2 separate regions of the Homo sapiens genome follow, and region 2 is linked to region 1. Evidence: promoter capture Hi-C in human tissues and cell types (Jung and others, 2019). All regions are on one chromosome and are shown on one strand. The core of a region is centred on a gene start or on the middle of the fragment in contact, and the rest is flanking DNA. Distances in the headings are between cores, read along the strand shown. Region 1 holds the start of REN (renin). Region 2 has its middle 33 kb from the start of SNRPE.

Evidence for each region. The method cuts DNA at HindIII sites, captures the fragments that hold promoters and counts their contacts. A contact is called where the count stands out against the background at its distance.
Region 2: a fragment that was not itself captured here is called in contact with the fragment with the promoter of REN in region 1 in 1 of the 25 tissues and cell types used here (neural progenitor cells).

What each region holds. Positions count from the first base shown.
Region 1 is chr1:204,162,365-204,168,294 of GRCh38, forward strand. REN (renin) reads right to left here and starts at 3,973. Exons shown (of 10, transcript NM_000537.4): 1 at 3,832-3,973. The coding sequence starts at 3,929. RefSeq lists a silencer at 1-3,829, promoters at 3,958-5,930, 3,970-4,121, 4,122-4,556 and cis regulatory regions at 4,033-4,055, 4,040-4,347, 4,217-4,232. The HindIII fragment of the contact is 7,868 bases long and covers 1-5,930 here.
Region 2 is chr1:203,891,619-203,897,657 of GRCh38, forward strand. No RefSeq gene overlaps it. Among named protein-coding and RNA genes, the nearest start is that of SNRPE, 33 kb to the left of the region's middle. The HindIII fragment of the contact is 3,154 bases long and covers 1-2,970 here.

The DNA.
Region 1 (5,930 bases), core at 2,723-5,222:
TGCCCGGGGATTAAATAACCCTGAAGTGACTTCCTTCTGTTGCCTAATTTTGATTAGACAAGGCTATTTGTTTATTGGTCCGTTCATTCATTTATTCCGTAATCACCTGCTGAACAACTACTTTGTGCCTCACTGTGCTGGACACTGGAGCTAGAAAGATAATGATCATGACTGCCTTTAAGGAACTCCACCTGGCGGGAGGACAGACAGGAAACAGGCACAGACATTCCCTCTGAAGAGATTAATGCCAGGGAGTGCCCCTGTCAAAACTAGGGGCTGGCGGGGAGACAGTGCCATGGGAGGCCGCTAGGTGGCAGCAGATGCCCACAGCAGCTGCAAGGTCTCCAGGATACCAGGGGACAGGCACCCAGCCAGGGCTGTGGTGGAGTGGACCCCCTGAGCTGGGTTGGGCCTAGAGAGATGCCAGCATCTTCAGAGCGCCATGCACCTCGTCCTTGGAGAGATGTGTCCCGGTCCCTTGGCTTCTTGTCTAGATGTTTTCCCATCACCTTTGAGAGGCAGAATTAAAGAGACCTAGGAAACTGACTCTACTGAGCCGCTACTGAAATCACACCAACAAGCTAGCTGTCATCCATTTTATAGATGAGAAAAATGAAGGCTCACAGGGACAAAGGTGACTCAGAAATGTTGAAGCAGGGATTCAGAGCATGTGTCTGGCCCTATTTCCCATATAGGGTCCCCTGGGTCCCGACATAAAGGCTGCCAAAGCCCAGAGGAAGATGTCTCTAGCTGTTCACGGGAAGGTCCCAGGATGGAAGCCCAAGTTGACTCTGCAATAGACTTTCCCATACACACAAAGATTCCCTCTTTCTTCTACTTTCTTCTCAGTGGCTAGTCCTCCTATACTCACACTACCCTTTCCTTCCTACATCCTTCTTGCGTCCCATGCATTCTACTTACCCCCATTTTGCCCATGAACATGAATGCAACTTTTATGCCTATCAGCATGGTATTGTAACAGAAATGATTTGTTATCTTCCTATCACAGGTTACTGTTACCAAAATATTTTCACAATCATTATTTTATTTGCTCTCATAAGGTGGATGATTTTATTACTCCCACTTCACAGCTGGGAACGTGGAGGGTCAGAGGTTTGGCCCCAAAGAGGTTGCATTTCCCACTGTTTACTCACAACAGCCTATGCTTTGGACCTTTACTTCTTGCCATTTCCTTTTCAGAAAATCCTTTCCTTCTTCCCTTCCTTTTCCCCCCAGTTCTTTAGTCCTCCAAGGCCCAACATGTACCCCCACCTCCAGGAAGCTTACCCCAAGGCCTCCAGCCCACACCGGCCTCACCTTCCCGTGGGCCTCAGCTCTGTTTTTCCTTGGGTCTCACAGCCCACACTGTACAGCTTGTGGAACTGGTGCCGTACGGTGGTGAAGACAGTGGTTGCAGGGGGCATGCCTGAATCCCCTTACCACTTATGTGATTCTGAGAAAGCTACCTAACCTCTCTGGGCCTCTTCTAAGTCTCCATTAACCCCTCTCTAACAATGGGCCTAATGGTAGTACCTACCTCAGAGTCACTGTGCAGATGAAACCATGCGACCACTGCTCAATAAATGTAAATTGTAGGTGTGTATATGTACATGTTCACCTTGAGAATGGAGCTCATTCATTCAGCTGTCCCAAGTGCCTCGCATGATGCTCTGCACATAGCGGGTAGCAAAATTCCTATAATACTGTTTCAAAAGCTGGATTCCCCCTCCACCCCTTGCCCAATTCCATTCTTTTTCTCTTTTGGATAACAGCAGGGGAAGATGTTTTTACTTTCCTCTACCTTTATCCTGGAGTGCAGCTGCTTTGAAGCACCCATCCTCTTACCCAGTGCTCACAACCCAGCAATTACTCTCCGAGAGCCTCAGAGCAAGGGAAAGCAGTTTCGGAAGCAAAAGGCCCAGTGTGTGTTGAGGCTTAGCCTCTTACATATCACCTCCCTGAGCCTCAGTGTCCTCATCTGCAAAGTGGGAATGCTGAGTTGTTGGGGGCATGACTTGAGATGAGACATGTGAAAAGATCCTGTGACACCCTAAGCATTTTATAGGCTTAGCAACTATTACCATTATTAAAGTGTGCCTCCCTACCTTCAGGACTGCTGGTCATATCTGCTGTCCCCAGATTGAAAACCCCTTTCTCTGTGAGGCCTTTTCTCAAATGCTGTCTCTTCCCCTTCTTCAGTCTTTTTTTTTTTTTTTTTTTTTTTTACATAAGGTCTGGCTCTATCACCCAGGCTAGAGCACAGTGGGTCAGTCTCTGCTCACTGCAGCCTCCACCTCCCAGGCTGAAGTGATGCTCCCACCTCAGCCTCCCGAGTAGCTGGGACTACAGATTTGCACCACCACACCTAGCTAATTTTTGTATTTGTACAGACAAGGTTTCACCATGTTGCCTAGGCTGGTCTTGAACTCGTGAGCTCAAGCGATCTGCCCACCTCAGCCTCTCAAAGTGCTGGAATTACAAGCATGAGCCGCGTGCCCAGCTTCCTTCTACAGTCTTAATGAATCACTTGTTCCCACAAGGCCTGGCACCTAGGGGATGCTAAGGTTTTCTCCTTCTAATTGTGGGCTACCTAAAGCCTTGTTTTTTTCTTTCTTTTTTTTTTTTAGACTGAGTTTTGCTCTTGTTGACCAGGCTGGAGTGCAATGGCGCTATGTCGGCTCACTGCAACCTCAGCCTCCCAGGTTCAAGCGATTCTCCTGCCTCAGCCTCCCAAGTAGCTGGAATTACAGGCATGTGCCACCACGCCCGGCTAATTTTGTATTTTTAGTAGAGACAGGGTTTCTCCATGTTGGTCAGGCTGGTCTTGAACTCCTGACCTCGGGTGATCTGCCCCCCTCGGCCTCCCAAAGTGTTGGGATTATAGGCGTGAGCCACTGCTCCCGGCCAAACCTTGCTTTTGATATTTGTAAGAATCTATCCTGTAGTACTAACAGTAGCTGGGCTCTTACAACGTGCCCAGCTTTCTATGCCTTATCTCCTAAAATCCCCAAAGCAGCCCCATCAAGTAGGTACTGTTATTATCATACCTGTTTAAAATGATAAACTGAGACTTGGAGAGGTTAAATAACTTGCCCATGATTCCAGACCTAGTTTGTTCTGCTAGTGAAGCAAAATTTAAATGAAGGCAATCTAACTCTATAAGCCTTGCATTTAACCACGATATCAAGCTGCTTCCCTGGTACAGTTAACTGTACCCATGCCCCGACCCCCGTCTTTTTTTTTTTTGAGATGGAGTCTTGTTCTGTCACTCAGGCTGGAGTGCAGTGGCACGATCTTGGCTCAGCAATCTCCACCTTCCGGGCTCAAACGATTCTCCTGCCTCAGCTTCCCGAGTAGCTGGGGATTACAAGTGCCTGCCACCATGCCCGGCTAATTTTTGTATTTTTAGTAGAGATGGGGTTTCCCCATGTTGGCCAGGCTGGTCTCAAACTCCTGACCTCAAGTGATCCGTCTCAGCCTCCCAAAGTGCTGGGATTACAGGCAGGAGCCACCGCGCCCAACCACCCATGCCCTTCTTAATATTCAGGCTGTGAGCTCCTCAAGTGCAAGGGGCATGTCCTAATACTTCTGAGTTCTCTACAGTGCTTAGTTAGCATGGTGCTCTGGGCAGGAAGCAAAAGTCACAGCTTCTAGACCTGACTACTAGTGTCATTTATTGGGCAAGTCACTTGACCTCTCTGAACAGGTCCATACTTCCCTGTCCAGCTGATCGTAAGGACTGAATGACACCGCATGTGGAAAAGCCAGGGTGTTGGGAAGGTGGGAACCCTGCACCCCTCCCACCCCTTCTCTGCCTGAGTTACCAATTACCGTTTAAAGGTGGTGGTGTCTGTCGGGAGACCAAAGGTACAGGAGCCCCAGAGCAGCAGCAGCAGTCCCCAGCGAGGCATCCTTCTCCATCCATCCATGCTTCCCTCAGTCTGGGGCTCTCTCTGAGATCCACTGAGGTTCTGTGGCTCCCTTAGCCCTTCCCCTTTTATACACTCCATGCATGGGGTGATTGCAATTCTGCTCTGCCCTGATTTATTACCCTGGGGTAGATGGCAGGGCAGTCAGCAATAAATCTCACTGCGGGACAGAGCTAGGTGGGTGAAGGGTACCCAGGTTTCCGGATGGGGAGCAGAGGGGCTGGAGGAAGGACAGCTGTGGGAAAGCAATCTTGTGTCCAGTGACGCTAGCAGCCCTCTATCTGGCTTGGCCCTGTGACCCCTGGAGCAGGCAGAGGCTGATGAGAAACAGCACTGCTCAGGGCTAACATCAAAACTGGGACAAGCGTAAAACCTAGGTTTCCAGCTCCCTAGCCCAGACCCAACCCCTATACCCTGGAAGCTCCATTCTCTATATTAACTTTGGCTTTGTCCCTGACTGGCCTCTCCCAGGCTACAGCCCAGTTTTCCCATCTAGAACATGGGTGAATCTTCATGACTGGTTTCTTGGCAGGAAAAGCAACAGCTGGTTTAATTATAAGAGTAGAGGGGCCAGGCATGGTGGCTCACACCTGTCCCAGCACTTTGGGAGGCCAAGGTGGGTAGATCACCTGAGGTCAGGAGTTCCAGACCAGCCTGACCAACAATGGTGAAACCCCATCTCCACTAAACTACAAAAATTAGCTGGGTGTGGTGATGGACACCTGTAATCTCAGCTACTCAGGAGGCTGAGGCAAGAGAATTGCTTGAACCCAGGAGGCGGAGGTTGCAGTGAGCTGAGATCATGCCACTGCACTCCGGCCTGGGCAATAAGAGTGAAATTCCATCTCAAAAAAGAAAGAGAGTGGAGGGAGACTTAGCATGACTGACTCCATTTTGCCTCTGACCCCCAGGGGTATTATCCTTTAGGCTAAAAGCTTCTGCTTAGCTCTGTACATAGACCAGCTAATTATAGGAGTTTAGCTTGCAGTTCAACTTTAAAAAAAATGGTAACAGTTCCTTTCCCCAAACTAACCCCCAAGGAGATAAGGAAATATACAGACAAATAACAATGTTATGTTAAAGATGTATAGGAACATTGTGACCTGACCTAGAAAAAAGAAGTTTTACAACGTCCTCAGACCCTTGCTGGCACCCAGGTGTCTGTGGTCATCAGTCACCTCTTGATCCCAATCCCCTTCTTCTTCCCCTTCCCTTAACATAAAGAAGAGCCTAACGTTCATGCTGACTTCAGATGGTTCTTTATGATGCTGGTCCACCATCTTCTTGGTTTTCTGGTTCTCTGAATAAGGTAGCTTTCCTTGCCACAATACCTTGTCTCTAGACTTATTGGCTGTTGTGTGGCAAGTGATACGAGCTTGGACTCAGCTACTCATAGCCTTGAACAGTCTTTCTGTGTCTGATTACATTCAAGTATTGTTTTCATCAGGTTTGACTTACAGGTTATCTAAATGGGCTTCCCATAAGAAGAAGCAATCACACTACAGAAAGTTTTTCTTTGCGTTTTTGGTAGCTGGCCTAAGAAACAATTATTTTAGGCTGGGAAACAGTGGCTCATGCCTGTAATCCTAGTGCTTTGGGAGGATGAGGTAGGAGGCTCACGCTCACTTGAAGCTCGTTCAAGACCAGCCAGGGCAATATAGCAAGACCCCATCTCTGAAAAAAATTAGCTGGGTGTGGTGGTGCGTGCCTGTAGTCTTAGCTACTGGGGAGGCTGAGGCGGGAGGATCACTTGAGTCCAGGAGTTCAAGGCTGTAGTGAGCTATGATTGTGCCACTGCACTTTAGCCTGGATGACAGAGTGAGACCCTGTCTCAAAAAATAAAAGGAAAGATTTTACATTTTCTCAAGATAATTCCTCATTCTTGTTATCTTTATCAGGTTTTTGATTACTTAGGAAAACTGAGCTTTAGAAAGGTTAAGTCTTTATATTCATGTAACTTTCTGTATTGCTATTAAAGTCTTTTAATTATCACTTTTGTGA
Region 2 (6,039 bases), core at 144-2,643, 270 kb before region 1:
GCTGACTACACAGTTATTACTGCATGACCCTGCTTTTTGTCTTCAGTGTGTAATACAAGAAGTAGTGAAACCCCATCTCTACTAAAAATACAAAATTAGCCCAGCTTGGTGGCACGTGCCTGTAATCCCAGCTACTTGGGAGGCTGAGGCAGGAGAGTCGCTTGAACCCAGGAGGTGGAGGTTGTGGTGAGCCGACATCACGCCATTGCACTCCAGCCTGGGCAACAAGAGCGAAACTCCGTCTGGAAAAAAAGAAAAAAAAAGTAAACATGAGGCTAGACATGGTGCCACATGCCTATAATCCCAGCACTTTGGAAGGCTGAGGTGGGTGGATGGAGCCCAGGAGTTCAAGACCAGCCTGGGCAATATGGCAAAAGCCTGTCTCTACAAAAAATACAAAAATTAGCCAGATGTGGTGGTGCATGCCTGTATTCCCAGCTACTCGGGAAGCTGAGGTGGGAGGATCACTTCAGCCTGGAAGGTCAAGGCTGCTGTGAGCCAAGATTGTACCACTGCACTCCTGCGTGGGGGACAGAGTGAGATCCTGTCTCAAAAAAAAAAAAAAAAACTTAAAAAGACAAAAAGGTAAACATGATGGTTGAGGAACAAGAAAAGGACAAAATTGATGAGCAAAGTGATTAAATACTAAAATGAAAGGAACAGAAGGGTAGAATTAACAGAAAGCCAACTCAAGAAAATTCAAAAGAAAAAGAAAAAACAAGAATTCTAAGTGTCGGATCCATGAGCCCTTCATACCAGATACAGGAGCCAATGAACCTACCTGAAATTACATTTAAAATAACAAGGAATGTTCATTTATGAGGGGAATGTGGTCAGTAGCTTTCATTAAATTCATAGAGGAGTTCATGTCTTTCCTCCACAACAGGCTTGTAATCATAGCTGCAACAAATAAAACAGTAGGCTTCTAGTCAAAATGGAGTAAGAGGGATCAGATTTAACAGAAACAAGTAAAAATCTGGGGCTGGGTGCAGTGGCTCGTGCCTGTAATCCCAGCACTTTGGGAGGCTAAGGCGGGTGGATCACCTGAAGTCAGGAGTTCAAGACCGGCCTGACCAACATGGAGAAACCCCGTCTCTACTAAAAATACAAAATTAGCTGGGCAAGGTGGCGCATGCCTGTAATCCCAGCTACTCAGGAGGCTGAGGCAAGAGAATCACTTGAACCCGGGAGGCGGAGGTTGTGGTGAGCCGAGATCGCACCATTGCACTCCAGTCTAGGTGACAAGAGTGAAGCTCCGTCTCAAAAAAAAAAAAAATTGAATAAGAAATATGAAACAATTAAATTTCAGACAGTAGGACACCAGGCATTCCAGGACGGTGGTTGTTCTCTCAGGTAACCATATGAAGTGAGCCTTACAATTCATCAAACTTAACATCTAAGGAGATTTTCTCAAGCCTCAGTACAGTGGGTAGGAACCTGGGTGGAACACAGGGGAGTCTCCCTGAGTTGAGATGGGATTGGGAATCTACAGCAACCCAAGGAAATAAAGTTTTCAGGGAAGAGTTCTGGAGAGGAGAGAACTGGAGATGTGCAGAGTTTCCGCCTCAAGTCTTCAGAGGGTTGACCAGCACATACATGTGAGGTAACAACCCAGGCAAGGGAAGTAAACATCAAAAAGAAGCAGAATAAACACTTCTTTTCATGCATTTTGCAAAGGACTGGGAAAAGATTTTATTCCTGCCAGCTACAGAGGAAAGACCTCATACCTCAAAAGGGGTCAGATAGAATATTTAAAGGGACATTGCAGGCCGGGTACGGTGGTTCACACCTGTAATCCTAGCACTTTGGGAGGCCAAGGCATGCAGATCACTTGAGCCTGGGAGTTGGAGACCAGCCTGGGCAACATGGTGAAATCCTTTCTCTACAAAAAAATACAAAAATTAGCCAGGTGTGGTGGCATGCACCTGTAGTCACAGCTACTCAGGAGGCTGAGGTGGAAGGATCACCTGAACTCAGGGAAGTCAAGGCTGCAATGATCTGTGATTGTGCCACTGTACTCCAGCCTGGGCAACAGAGTGAGACCCTGTCTGAAAAATAAATAGAAGAACATTGCATTAATAGTGGAAGAAAATTAGTCCTAGACTAAGCTTGCTTTGGTGTTACCTAACAAAGCTTAAATGTGAGTTTTGAGAGAAACTGGGACGAAGCTTAAGAATATTATTATATTATGCAAAAATATCTGGCACCCAACAAGGTGAAATTCAATGTCTGGTATCCAGTTGAAAATTATCAATCATGCAATAAAGCAGAAAAATGCAACCACAATGAGAAAAATACAAACACCTGGAAATGACACATGATAGAATTAATTGACAAGGATATTGAAACTAGTTAAAAGTATATTCTGTATGTTCAAGAAAGTAGAGGAATGCTTGAAACATTGAAAGATTGAAAAGACTGGCATCAGGCTGGGTGCGGTGGCACATGCCTGTAATCCCAGCACTTTGGGAGGCTGAGGCAAGTGGATCACTTGAGGTCAGGAGTTTGAGACCAGCCTTGCCAACATGGTGAAACCCCATCTCTACTAAAAATACAAAAGTTAGGTATGGTGTAGGGGTCGGGGCAGGGGGGCACCTGTAATCCCAGCTACTCGGGAGGCTGAGGCATGAGAATTGCTTGAACCCAGGAGACAGAGGTTGCAGTGAGCCAAGATTGTGCCACTGCACTCCAGCCTGGGTGACACAGTGAGACTTCATTTCAAAAAAAAAAAAGACCAGTATCAAATTTCTGAAAATGCAAACTTTAGTGTGTGATATGAAAAACACACTTGTTAGAATCAACAGCACATTAGAGAGTGTGGAATAAAAGATTAGTAAACTTGAACACATAGCACAGAAGTTATTCAAAATTAAAGAAAAAAGGCTGAAGAAAATGAATAGCATATCAGTAAACTGTGGGAGAACCTCTAGCAGTCTAATTTGTGTGTAATTGGAGTCTCCAAAGGAGAGGGGAGGAGAGAAAAAGGATTTGAAAAAATAATGGCTGAAAAATGTTCAAATTTGATGAAAACTATAAGCCCTTAACAGGTCTAATGGACCTCAAGCACAAGGAAGACAAGGAAAATAATATCATGACACATAACACTTGAAAAATTGTTCAAACCAGAAATTGAGAGGAAATATTAAAGGCAGTAGGAACTAGACATGTTACAGATAGAGAAACCAAAGGATGACAGCATATTTCTCATCAGATACAATGCAGGTGTGAAAACAATGGAGTTACATCTTTAAAGTACTGAAACAAACAAAAAATCAACCTTGAATTCTATACCCAGCCAAAATATCTCTTGAAAACAAAGGTGAGCCAGGTATGGTGGCTCATGCCTGTAATCCCAGCACTTTGGGAGGCTGAGGTGGGCAGATCACAAGGTCAGGAGTTTGAGACCAGCCTGATCAATATGGTGAAACCCTGTCTCTACTAAAAATATAAAAACTTAGCCGGGCATGGTGGCGCATGCCTGTAATCCCAGCTACTCAGGAGGCTGAGGCAGGGGAATTGCTTGAACCTGGAGGCAGAGGTTGCAGTGAGCTGAGATCGCACCACTGCACTCTAGCCTGGGTGACAGAGTGAGACTCCATCTCAAAAAAAAAAAGAAAAGAAAGGTGAAATAAAGACTATTTCAGAAATACAAAAGCTGAAAGAATTCATCACCAGCAGACTTATACTATAAGAAGTATTAAGTCCTTCAGGGACAAGGAAAAAGGTACCAGATAGAAGTCTGGATCTACAAAAAAAAATGAAGAACAAGAAGCTTTTTTTTTTTTTTTTTTTTTTTTTTTGGTAAAACAGTTACTGCTTAAAGGAAAAAGTACTACAATTAATCATGGGATTTCTTTTACATATATATATAGAGAGAGAAGTAAAATACATGACCACAATAGAATAAGGCCAAGATGGGGGAAGTGAAATCATACTGCTGTAAGATTTTTTTTTTTTTTTTTGGAGAGATGGGGTCTTACCATGTTGCCCAGGCTACTCTCAAGCTCCTGGCCTCAAGAAAGCCTCCCACATCAGCCTCTCAAAGTGCTGGAATTTCAGACATGAGTTACTGCACCTGGCATGCTGTAAGATTTTCACCTTGTACATGATAAATCCTGAAGTAATCACAAGAAAAATAGAAAAGCTAATAAGTCAACCAAGGAGATTTAATGGAGTCATTAAAAATTCTTAGTCTAAGCCAGGTGCGGTGGCTCATGCCTATAATTCCAGCACTTTTGGAAGCCGAGGTGGGTGGATCATCTGAGGTCAGGAGTTTGAGACCAGCCTGGCCAACATGATGAAACCCCATCTCTACTAAAAATACAAAAAATAGCTGGGTATGGTGGCACACGCCTGTAATCCCAGCTACTCGGGAGGCTGAGGCAGGAGAATTGCTTGAACCCAGGAGACAGAGGTTGCAGTGAGCCAAGATTGTGCCACTGCACTCCAGCCTGGGTGACAGAGTGAGACTCTCCAAAACACACACACACACACACACACACACACACACAGTCTCTTCAATCTAAAAGACTGAAAAGAAGGCAAGGAAAAAGGAAAAAAAGCTGGGACAAACAAGACAAACAGCAAGGTGGTACATTTAAAACCGACCTTTTCAATAGTTATACTCAGAATTGTCCCAACACCCCAATTAGCATCACAGACCCTACCGCATGCTGCTTGCAAGACAACCACTCTAAATATAAAGACAATCGGTTAAATGCAAATGGATATTAAATGATATGCCTGTAATAAAAAGAAATCTGATGAAACTATATTAGTATCAGACAAAGTAGATCTCAGAACATAGCATATTGCCAGGGAAAAGGGGATATTTTATGAGATCATAGGGTCAATTCAATAAGAAGTCATAACAATTCTACATGTTCATTTGCCTAAATGACAGCTTCAAAATACATAAAGAAAAACCTGATGGAACTGTGAGGAAAAACAGTTTTCACAATTACAGTCAGATTTTAGCACCTCTCAATAATTGCTAAGTAGAAAATTAATAAGAATGTAAAAGACTTGAACCACATTATCAACCAACTTGATGTAACAGATATTTACAGAGTACCTAGCAGCAAAAATAAATTATATTAAAAATGCGGGTGCAGCACACCAGCATGGCACATGTATACATATGTAACTAACCGGCACATTGTGCACATGTACCCTAAAACTTAAAGTATAATAATAATAAAAAAAATTATATTAAAAATGCTTCTTAAAATAGGGGATTTGATAAACATTTTTAAAAATAAAAACTATACAGCACTCAGCATCAACAGAAAACTTTTTTTCAAGTGCACAAGGGACTTTATCAAGATAGGCTAAGTTCTGGGCAGCAAGTATCAATGCATTTAAAAGGATTAAAATCATTCAAAGTGTGACCTCATAGCCAGGCGCAGTGGCGTACACCTGTAATCCCAGCACTTTGGGAGGTCAAGGCGGGTGGATCACCTGAGGTCAGGAGTTCACGACCAGCCTGACTAACATGGTGAAACTAAATACAAAAAAATTAGCGGGGCGTGGTGGCACATGCCTGTAATCCGAGCTACTTGGGAGGCTGAGACAGGAAGAATCACTCGAACCCGGGAGGTGGAGGTTGCGATGAGCCAAGATTGCGCCATTGCACTCCAGCCTGGGCAACAAGAACGAAACTCCATCTCAAAAAAAAAAAAAAAAAAAAAAAAAATCATTCAACGTGTGACCTCAATAAAGTTAGAAATAACCAATCTCTGGGAAATTAACAAATATTTAGAAACTAAATAATATCCTTCTATGCAGTCCATGTACCAACAAAGAAACCAAAAGGGAAGTTGGGACTCATTTTGAACTGAATGAAAAATGAAAGCACACATATCAAAATTTGTAGGATATAGTTAAAGCATGATTCAGAGCGAAATTTGTAGCATAAATACATACATTTGAAAAGAAGGAAGATCTTAAATCAATGACCTCAGCTTCTACCTTAAGAAACTAGAAAATAAAGAGCAAATAAATCACGCCTGTAATCCCAGCACTTTGGGAGGCAGAGGA